Regions from separate parts of the Homo sapiens genome. Here region 2 is linked to region 1. The links are contacts of gene promoters, found by promoter capture Hi-C in human tissues and cell types (Jung and others, 2019). All regions are on one chromosome and are shown on one strand. The core of a region is centred on a gene start or on the middle of the fragment in contact, and the rest is flanking DNA. Distances in the headings are between cores, read along the strand shown.

Region 1 (4,997 bases), core at 382-2,881:
GGTTTCTCCATGTTGGCCAGGCTGGTCTCAAACTCCTGACCTCAGGTGATCTGCCTGCCTTGGCCTCCAAAAGTGCTGGGATTACAGGTGTGAGCCACCGCGCCCGGCCCTGCTTTCTGTCTTTGTGAATCTGACTACTCTAGGTACCTTACATAAGTAGAATAATACAGTATTTTCCTGTATGTGACTGGTACTGTTATTTCACTTAGCATATTGATGCTTTTTTTTTTTTTTTGAGATGGGGTCTCACTCTATCACCCAGGCTGGAGTGCAGTGGTGCGATCTTGGCTCACTACAACCTCCATCTCCTGGGCTCAAGCAATCCTCCAGCCTCAGCCTGCTGAGTAGCTGGGACCACAGGCGTGCACCACCACACCACCTAATTTTTTGTATTTTTGGTGAAGATGGTATTTTGCCATGTTGTCCAGGCTGGTCTTGAACTTGTGAGCTCAAGGAGATCCAGGAGATCCACTTGCCTTGGCCTCCCAAAGTGCTGGTATTAGAGGCATAAGCCACCACACCTGCCCCATACTGATGCATTTTTACATGACATTAGTGAATTCAATTAGCCTAGTATTTTATTTAGAATGTTTCATATCAGCTGGGCGCTGTGGCTCACGCCTGTAATCCCAGCACTTTGGGAGGCCGAGGTGGGCGGATCACGAGGTCCGGAGATTGAGACCATCCTGGCTAACACGGTGAAACCCTGTCTCTACTAAAAATACAAAAAATTAGCCGGGCATGGTGGCGGGCGCCTGTAGTCCCAGCTGCTCGGGAGGCTGAGGCAGGAGAATGGCGTGAACCCGGGAGGCAGAGCTTGCAGTGAGCTGAAATTGTGCCACTGCACTCCAGCGTGGGTGACAGAGCGAGACTCCGTCTCAAAAAAAGAAAAACAAAAGTTGTTTTAGCCCCAAAGTACCTCATTTCTCTTTTCTTTTAATTTAATTTTTTTTTTTTGTTTTGTTTTGAGACAGCATCTCGCTCTGTCGGCTAGCCTGGAGTGCAGTGGCACGAACACGGCCCACTGCAGCCTCGAACTCCTGGGCTCAAGCGATCCTCTCGCCTCGGCCTCCCAAAGTGGTGGGGTTACAGGGCCACCGCGCCCGGCGCTAAAGTACCTCATTTCTATCATTCATCGATTATTCCCTAATATTAATTGGGCACAACTATGACTCATTTCCGACCCCGCAATGGGCTCTCTTGGTCTCCTTCTCCACCTTTCTTTCCCTCTTCCTCTTTTTATTTTTTGAAAGAGGAAGATCCAGGATGCAAGAGTCCCGACAATCATACTAGATATGCGAAAGAGAAAAAGCCGGAAGAAAATACACAAAAATCATAACACTTTGAGGGTGTGGCTTACGGGTGTTTTTTTTTTTTTTCATTTTCCTAACTCTGCAGTGCTGTTATATTCCATCCACAACTTCAAACAAAGTGCCACACGGCCGCAGTCCCAATCAATTCAATGACAATTGTTAGGGACGTCCTCGTCCCGCCCGGCCCGCGGACCCCGGCCCTTCCTCCTTGACAGGCTGGGGTCCAGCCCCGAGACATTCCTAGGCTCCGCCCCCGAGCAGACGCGCGCGCTCAGCCCCAGCGCAGAGAACCAATCACCATCCGTTTCCACGCTCAGTCCCTTTTGGCTTCTGCCCTCAACCAAAATGGCGCTAGCTCGGAAGCTGCCGAGGTGCTAGGAGTTGCCGAAGCAAGTCCGGAAGCTACCGAGCGAGTCCGGAAGTTGCCGAAAGGGAGCAGCGGGGAAGGAGGATGGCGGATATCATCGCAAGACTCCGGGAGGACGGGATCCAAAAACGTGTGATACAGGAAGGCCGAGGAGAGCTCCCGGACTTTCAAGATGGGACCAAGGTTCGTGTCTACCCTACCCTTCTCCCCCTCTGCGGCGTGGTGCGCATGCGAGGCGGGAGGAGGCCTTAGGCGAGAGGTTGCGCATGCCCAGAGGGCAGCGTCCACTGCCCCTACCGCTCACATGCAGAACTCGACGCTGATTGGGCTGAATTTAAGTAGGGGGTGAATTCGGGCCTGTCTGCCCCGCCCCCTGGCTCGGCCTTGTAGCAGCATTGGTGGGGGAGGCCGTCAGTCATCACAAGCGGGTTGGGGTTGGGGGTTGATCTCAGTGCTTGGGCAGACCCCACGCTGGAGGAAACCCAGGGCCGGGAGTGGTCCTCGGGTATCTGGGTTTCAAGGCTCATGATCCTTTGTAGATGGAAGGGCCTTCTGAAAACACTTAGACCAACTGCCGCTGTTTAGAGTGGAAAACCAAGACCCTGGGACGTGCAAAGCCGGAGAACGGGCCCAGAGGTCAGGTCTCCCAGACAGGGACTCTTTAGCAGCCTTCCTGCTGCACTAGGGGCTTGTTGGGACAGATGAGGGTTGGGAAGTAAAGAACCTCCCACTTTTCTCCTTTTTGCCAGGCCCCCAGATCCAGCCCCTCTGCCCGCTTCTCCCCCAACCTACAACTCCAGGCTTCCCTGCTTCTCCTGTAGTTGCCTCCTCCCGGAGTGCTTTTCCCAGCTGCCACTTGTTTGCAGAGTAGGGAACCTCCCAGGGGCAGCCCCTGTGCCCAGCAGAGCAGTCAGGCAGGACATGCACATTGAGCAAATGAGCACATGCCCCCTGGCCAGCACCGTGCCGAATCGGGCAGCTAAGCATCCTAGCCCAGTGCAGTATAAGTGCCCTGAGAGCAGAGGGGAGCTGCATGGCTGGAGTGATCCGCTGTATGAAAAGATATCTTCTCTAAGAAGAGACAGGATGTGTGGTGTGGGTTCATGCCCCCATGTGCTGGGGGGTTGGTGGCGTTGGAAGAAGGGGCTGGCAAGGGGGATCCTGGATGGAACAGACATCAGAAGGAGAGATGTGAACAATGGCACCCCAAGATCAGAAACAGGTGGTGTTAAATAACCAATCGCCAGCACTGATTGAGTGCTCACTATTCGAACATTGTGCTACATGCTTCACACGTTTATTTCCTACAATGTGAGATAGGTACTGTTGTTGATTCCGTTTTACCGATGTGGAAACTGACTTCAGAGATGCAGCATGGTGCGGCAGTTAAGAGCGTGGGCTCCTCTAACCATATCCTGTCGAGAGTTCAATCTCCAAACCTCTTTTCTCTGCACCCACCCCCAGTGTTATCTCTAAAAACTCTCCCTGCCCGGATTACTCCCAGATGCAGCTCTCCAGTCATTAACTGTCTCTTAAACCTGATATATAGCTCCCTACTCACCATATCCACCTGGAAGCCTGGTTGGCAACTCACACTTAACCTGCTCCACCTGAGGCTTCTCCGTGTCAGGGGAACCAACAACCTTCCCGTTGTTCAGGGCAAAAACCTTAGCATCTCTGTGGTCCTCCCAGTCTCACATCCAACATCACATCCTCAATATCCAGCCAGGATCTGAGTTCTCACCACTTCTGCCATCACTGCTTGGGTCCAGGCCATCCTCATCTCCAGCCTGGGTTACTGCAGCGACCTCTAACTCTCCTGCCTCTTTTGTCCCTCTGTGGTCTGTTCTCGTCCCAGCAGCCGAGCCCATGCCAGATTCAATTCCTTTTTTGCTCGGAGCCACTCAGTGGCTTCCATCACAGAGTGAAAAACAGAGGCCTCACCATAGCCTACAGGCCCTGTGAGGTCCACCCCTACTGACCTGGGTGAGCTCCCCTGCTGACCCTGTGGTGTACCCCACCCCCTCCTTCACTCTGCTCTGCCACACTGGCATTGCTGCTCTTGAACACATCATGCATTTGAAACGGGAAGTTCCCTTGTCTCCCTCGCAGGGCGTGCGATGGGGGAGTGGCTCGCTTCTTCAGTGCCCCGCTGCTCAGACCTCTGGGGGAGCATACAGATGGGCAGGCTGTGGGCTCCGACCTCATGGCAGTGTCTAGGGGTGAATATTTACAGCTCCGTGTGTTCTAGGGTGCTCTTTTAGTTTGTCTATGGGAGGCTTGTGTTAACCAGCTCAATTAGACCCCCTTCCTTATCACAAGGACAGAGGGCTTTCTGTAGTCTGGGGTTTTCTTGCCTTGATGTACTGGAGTACTGGAGAATTAGATCACTTGTGGGCTTGGAGAATGATTGCAAATTTTTTTTTATTTTTTATTTTATTTTTTTTTTCTGAGATGGAGTTTCACTCTTGTTGCCCAGGCTGGAGTGCAATGGCACAATCTCTGCCTCCCAGGTTCAAGCAATTCTCCTGCCTCAGCCTCCCAAGTAGCTGAGATTACATGTGCCTGACACCAGGCCCGGCTAATTTTTAAAAATGTTTTTAGTAGAGATGGGCTTTTACCATGTTGGCCAAGCTGGTTTCAAACGCCTTTTTTTTTTTTTTTTTTTTTGAGACGGAGTCTTGCTCTATTGCCCAAGCTGGAGTGCAGTGGCATGATCTCGGTTCACTGCAACCTCCACCTTCTGGGTTCAAGTGATTCTCCTGCCTCAGCCTCCCAAGTAGCTGGGATTACAGGCACCCGCCATCATGGCCAGCTAATTTTTGTATTTTTAGTAGAGACGGGGTTTTGCCACATTGGCCAGGCTGGTCTTGAACTCCTGACCTCAGGTGATCCACCCGCCTTGGAGATGGTCTTCCCCTGGGGTTGGGCCACTTGGTGGCCCCACCTCTCCTCTGACTGCCCCAGCCAAACTCCGCCTCTTCCTGCCAGTTGATGACCTGCCAGCGTGCAGGTGCCTGTCAGTGTGATCTTCTGCTTCTTGCTCCCCTGACATCCTCTCAATGACCAGGAGCTCGTCTTCTGCTGATGGGCTCCTCTGACATCTGGCTGCCTGTGGGTCTACCCCCTAGGGGTGTTGGGTTTTTATAGGCACAGGATAGGGGTGTGGCAGGCCAGGGTGGTCTTGGGAAATGCAACATTTGGGCAGGAAATGCCTGTTCTCACCTAGGTCTGTGGGGGTGGAACCCTACCCAGGGACCACGCCCTCCTCTACCCAGCACTTCCCTTCTCCCCTTCCAAATTATTTAACAGGACCA
Region 2 (5,056 bases), core at 1,819-4,318, 210 kb after region 1:
TGTTTCCTCGACTTTTAAAAGAAAAGTTAGGTTGGTGTCCTGGAACATGGACAATGGCTATTTCTTCAGGTAACTGAAGATTATTAAAAACATGAACAATTAGTGTTTCACGAGGAAGTTCTTTACCTTTACTGTTAATTAGTCCTTGCTTAGCCCCAATTTTCCCAAATGTATGAGATACCCCAAAGGCATATTTAGAGTCAGTATAGATGGTTTTTACCTGGTTCTGTAAATATTTTAGGGCGTGACTGTGAATAACTCGCAAGGTTGGGCAGACTAACTATTTGATAATCTTCCTGATTTTACTTCTTTTAAGATCTTCCTATAATTATAGCATATCCATTATGTCATGTCCCTTCAATTACCCGGGAGGAGACATCTATAAATAGATGTCGCTCTGTTTTAAAAGGGGTCTCTACTAAATCTGGCCTAACTTTTGTATGATAGTCAATTAAATCTAACCACAAATGTTCTTTTTTTGAGCAGTAGGTTTCCTGTTAAGAAGCTTGCTGGATTTCAGGAATTATCTGTTAAATCATCTTTTTTTTTAATAGAATAGCCTCATATTTTAAGATTCTAGAATCAGTAAGCCATCTCCCAGCTTTTTGGTTTAGGATCACCTTAACTTGGTGAGGGGTGCTCACTGTTAGGTACCCTTCAAAAGTTAATTTCTTACTTTCTTCAACTAGTATTGCTGTGGCTGCTAGAGACTGAATACACGGAGGCCATCTACTGGCAACTGGATCTAATGCTTTTGATAGAAAGGCTACTGGTTGTTGACCGCCTCCATGTTCTTTAGTGACCACCCTACTCTATTGTCTACATTCACAAAAAGATGACATGATTTTCTGAAGAGGGTAAGGCTAGGATGGGAGCAGTGATGAGTCTTTCTTTTAATTTCTCCACTTGATTAACTTCTTTAGAAGTCCATATAAGGGGATGCGTTTCCTCTTTAGTTAATTTCTTATATAAGAGCTTACTTTTTAATGCATATGAGTCCATCCATAAACGACAGTACCCAACTAATCCCAGGAATTTTTTAAGTTCTTGTTTGGTTCGGGGCAAGGGTAGAGACATGATTTTCTCAATTTTGGGGGGTCTTATTTTTCTTTTATCTGCACTTATTAAATGGCCTAGATATTTAACTTTAGGTTCTACATATTGAAGCTTTTCTTTTGAAACCCATAACCCTTTATCTTGTAGGTGGTTAAGAACTTTTGTAGAAAGTCCAGCTACCTTTTCTATCTCTTCCTTAGATGTAAGAATATTATCTACATATTGAAGAAAGCATAACTGTTTTGGGACAATAATTTTTTTTAAATACTTGACAAAAAAGATTGGGAAAATCTGTAAATCCTTGGGGTAAAAACTGTCCACCTGTATTGTTGCTTTTGCCTAAATAGGGGTCCTCCCACTCAAAGGCAAATATATTTTGGCTGTCTTTAGCCAAAGGACATGCCTAAAATGTATCTTTTAAGTCTATTACTGTGAACCACTGATGACTATATGGAATTTTACTAAGAATAGTGTAGGGGTTAGGCCCAACAGGATGAGTGGTTTGAACTATTTGATTGATAGCTCTAAGATTTTGCACTAATTGGTATGATTCATCTGATTTTTTTGACTGGTAACATTGGAGTATTGTATGGAGACATAGAAGGTTCAATAGCCCATCTTTAATAAGTCTTTTGATTACAGGCTTTAACCCTATTCTTCCTTCTAAAGGAATAGGGTATTGCTTTCTTTTTACTATTTCCCCTGGAGTCTTTAACTGAACATGTGTTGGAGGAATCTGTAAATTTCCCTGATTACCTTCCCTTGACCAGACAGCTGGATGAATGTATTTTTTATCTGCTATAGCTAACAAATTTAAAGAGGTTAGGAAACCTTTTGGACTAACTTGTAAACCTATACCTAACTTTAACGTTAAATCTCTTTCTAACAAATTGGCTTTTGCTTTAGGAATTAATAAAAATTGTATATAAACTAATCAATTTATATATTTAACTTCTGTATTTTCTAAAACTTTTGCCTTGAATCCTTCCCCTTTAACCCCAGAAACTGTTAATTCCTTTGGGGAACAAACTAAATGAGCTGAAGGAAAACAGACAGGTGAATGGGCTTCTCCTGAGTCGACTAAAAAGGTGATTAATTTATGTCTGGGTCCCACCTCTAAATTTATCAAGGGCTCTTGGTGGGACTCAAAATAGAAAAGTCAGAGCCCCTGACCCCCCTATTCTTCTTTAAAAGTGGTCACAAGTGGGGGAGCTTTTTCTGCCTTTTCTAACTTGGGACATTCCCTTTTAAAACGACCTGGTCTCCCGCATCTGTAACATCTGTCTTTTCCTTCCTCCCTACCAAGCCCAAAGCTTCTTTGCTTCTCCTCTTTATTTTCACATCCACAGCTCCTATGACACTTACTTTGACATTTTTTTCTAAAATACTGACCTGGCCGGGCGCGATGGCTCACACCTGTAATCCCAGCACTTTGGGAGGCCGAGGCGGGCAGATCACGAGGTCAGGAGATCCAGACCGTCCTGGCTAACACGTGAAACCCCGTCTCTACTAAAAATACAAAAAATTAGCTGGGTGTGGTGGCGTGGGCCTGTGGTCCCAGCTACTCAGGAGGCTGAGGCAGGAGAATGGCGTGAACCTGGGAGGCGGAGCTAGCCGAGATCGCACCACTGCACTCCAGCCTGGGTGACAGAGTGAGACTCCATCTCAAAATAAATAAATAAATTAATAAATTAATAAATTAGTTTAAAAAAATAAATACTGACCTTGCCTTCTTTTTTTGTTTTGCATTTTTGAATTCCTAAACTTTTTCCTTTTGCCTCCCCTAGAGAATTTTATAGGCCCAGGTCTAGATCTGGTCTCTGGCATCGTCTGCCAGAGACTAGTGAATTTTGCCAAAAGATTTTTGCTTTTTGCCTTTGTCTTTCCTTATTTTTTTACATATAGTTTTTGAGCCTTTTTAAATAACTTTTTTATTGATTTTTTAAATTTTCTAATTTTTGTAACTTTTTAGTAATGTCTGGCCAACTGTGAGTAACAAAGTGCAGTTTTAACATTCCTTGCCCAAGAGGGCTTTCTGGGTCTAAGTTAGCATTTTTTTTATTTGTTCTTTTAATTTATCTATGAACCTCATAGGTCCTTCATCTTTCTTTTGTTGGACATTAAATGCTTTGGAAAGGTTTTGGGGTCTGGGTGCTGACTTTTGAATCCCCCTGATTATTATTTTTTAAAAAATTCCTTATATTATTTCGGTGGGCAGCATTATTTTATCCCACTGCGGGTCCTGAGCAGGGAATTTATGATTTGCTGCCAGAACATTTTGACCTGGAGGATGTTTACGTTCCCAGATCGTATTTCTTTTTTTCCTTGAAAAAATAATACCTAGGATGCACACTGATTCAGCCCAAGTATATAACTGTGGGCCTAAAAACTGATCAATTTGATCTGCCACCCTGTTAGGATTATTTAACAGTGGCTTTAGTTCTCTTTTTATACTCCAAACTTCAGACCCAGTAAGGGGAGCATCCACAAAACCAATAGCTTCTCCTCCTTGGGGAACTTTCCTTAAAGGAAAGAATGTTGAAGTTAACTTTTTTGGGGGGCAGGAAAAGGGAAATTCTGAATATCCTTCTTACATTGTTTTAATTTTTGTTGGAGTCTTTTCTTTAAAGAAGGATATTTAGAATTTTTAGGCTCCTGGGATTCACAAGAATCTGGGTTATATGGGGGAGGCCTGGAGTGGCAGGGGGGCCTGGAGTGGCAGGGGGGCCTGGAGTGGCAGCTGGGTCAGGGATCAGGTCCAGAAGGGGATCTAGGACAGCAGCAGCTACCTGGGGAGGTGTCAGCAGGTTATTAAGAAACGGGGGAAGGTGGTCTAGAGGGTCCTATCTCTTATTAGATAAGGCCATTTTTGACTGTTTTTTATTTTCTAGTCCCCCTTTGATCGTTTTTAAAGGATAAAGAATAATATAGGCCCTTGCCGCTAGCATAAAGCATAATCAATTTTTCTTGTGACACAGGACTTTTGCTATAAACATATATTATTAAAAGTTGACAGATTTAATCTTTATCTGACCTAAATTTTGACCAAAAAACCGCTGGCTTGAGAATTGGCTTTTTAGTCCAAATAAAGCAACAATACTTAATTATCTGCTGCTTTTTTTAAATTTAGTTTTTTTATTATCTTTCCAATACTTTAACATGAGCCTTAAAGGACTATCGGGAGGGATTTGATAACTTGCATCTTTTTTTGCCCCCGATTTACTAGAAACCTTTCCCATATTGAATATCAGGTAGACTTAACCTCTTAATCCTAGAGATTTCTTGTCTATCCTGTTTTTTCCTGGCTTGCTTATATTTTTAACCTTAACGTGCTTGAGGTTTCGTTTTCCCTGAGGAGGATTTAACTCCTCTTTTTCTTTCTGGAGGCTTTTTACACTCTTCACTCGCTTTGTCCTACCTGGCCACTTTCCTCACGGGAATTTAGGCCCCTCTTAGCATTGGCGTGCCGGTATAAACCCCAAGGCAAGATCCGCCTTAAGCCGTATGAGGTAGCCACGGAACCGCAGGCAAGACTCACTCGCTCGGTCCAGCAGTAGGACTTATCATGATTTACACAAGCAACACCAGCTGCAGTGAGGCTTGTGACTATTCACACACACTTTTAACCTCCAGAATATCCCGACCACCAAGCAAGTACTTTGTCGCACCCTTGCGACGTTTCTTTACTTTGCTCTGTGAACAGAGTTTATCTGGTCCCCGAGGCAGTGCAATGCAAGCCTATTCGCCGTTTTCCACGTTGCTGAGGGTCCGGGTTTATTCATCACAACAGGTAAGTCCGGATTCCCAGTCCCTGAGGCCACCGCAGTAAGGCAGTGGGGCGCCTCCCCTTGGTGGGGGGGCGGGAATCAGAGACCCCGACCCGAAGGAGACTGGGTGATCCCAGACGAGCCCCCAAGACTGTTAGAAATAAATCCTTATTCCCCGATGTCACAAAGAAGAATCAGCAGACGAAAAGCTTCCTCAGCAAGGTGATTTTTAC

Evidence for each region. The method cuts DNA at HindIII sites, captures the fragments that hold promoters and counts their contacts. A contact is called where the count stands out against the background at its distance.
Region 2: a contact is called between a fragment that was not itself captured here and the fragment with the promoter of AIP in region 1, in 2 of the 25 tissues and cell types used here (lymphoblastoid cells and spleen).

What each region holds. Positions count from the first base shown.
Region 1 is chr11:67,481,395-67,486,391 of GRCh38, forward strand. AIP (AHR interacting HSP90 co-chaperone) reads left to right here and starts at 1,632. Exons shown (of 6, transcript NM_003977.4): 1 at 1,632-1,863. The coding sequence starts at 1,765. RefSeq lists enhancers at 1,474-1,533, 3,681-3,730, 4,186-4,997. The HindIII fragment of the contact is 17,225 bases long and covers 1,134-4,997 here.
Region 2 is chr11:67,690,616-67,695,671 of GRCh38, forward strand. No RefSeq gene overlaps it. Among named protein-coding and RNA genes, the nearest start is that of ALDH3B2, 19 kb to the left of the region's middle. The HindIII fragment of the contact is 4,464 bases long and covers 837-5,056 here.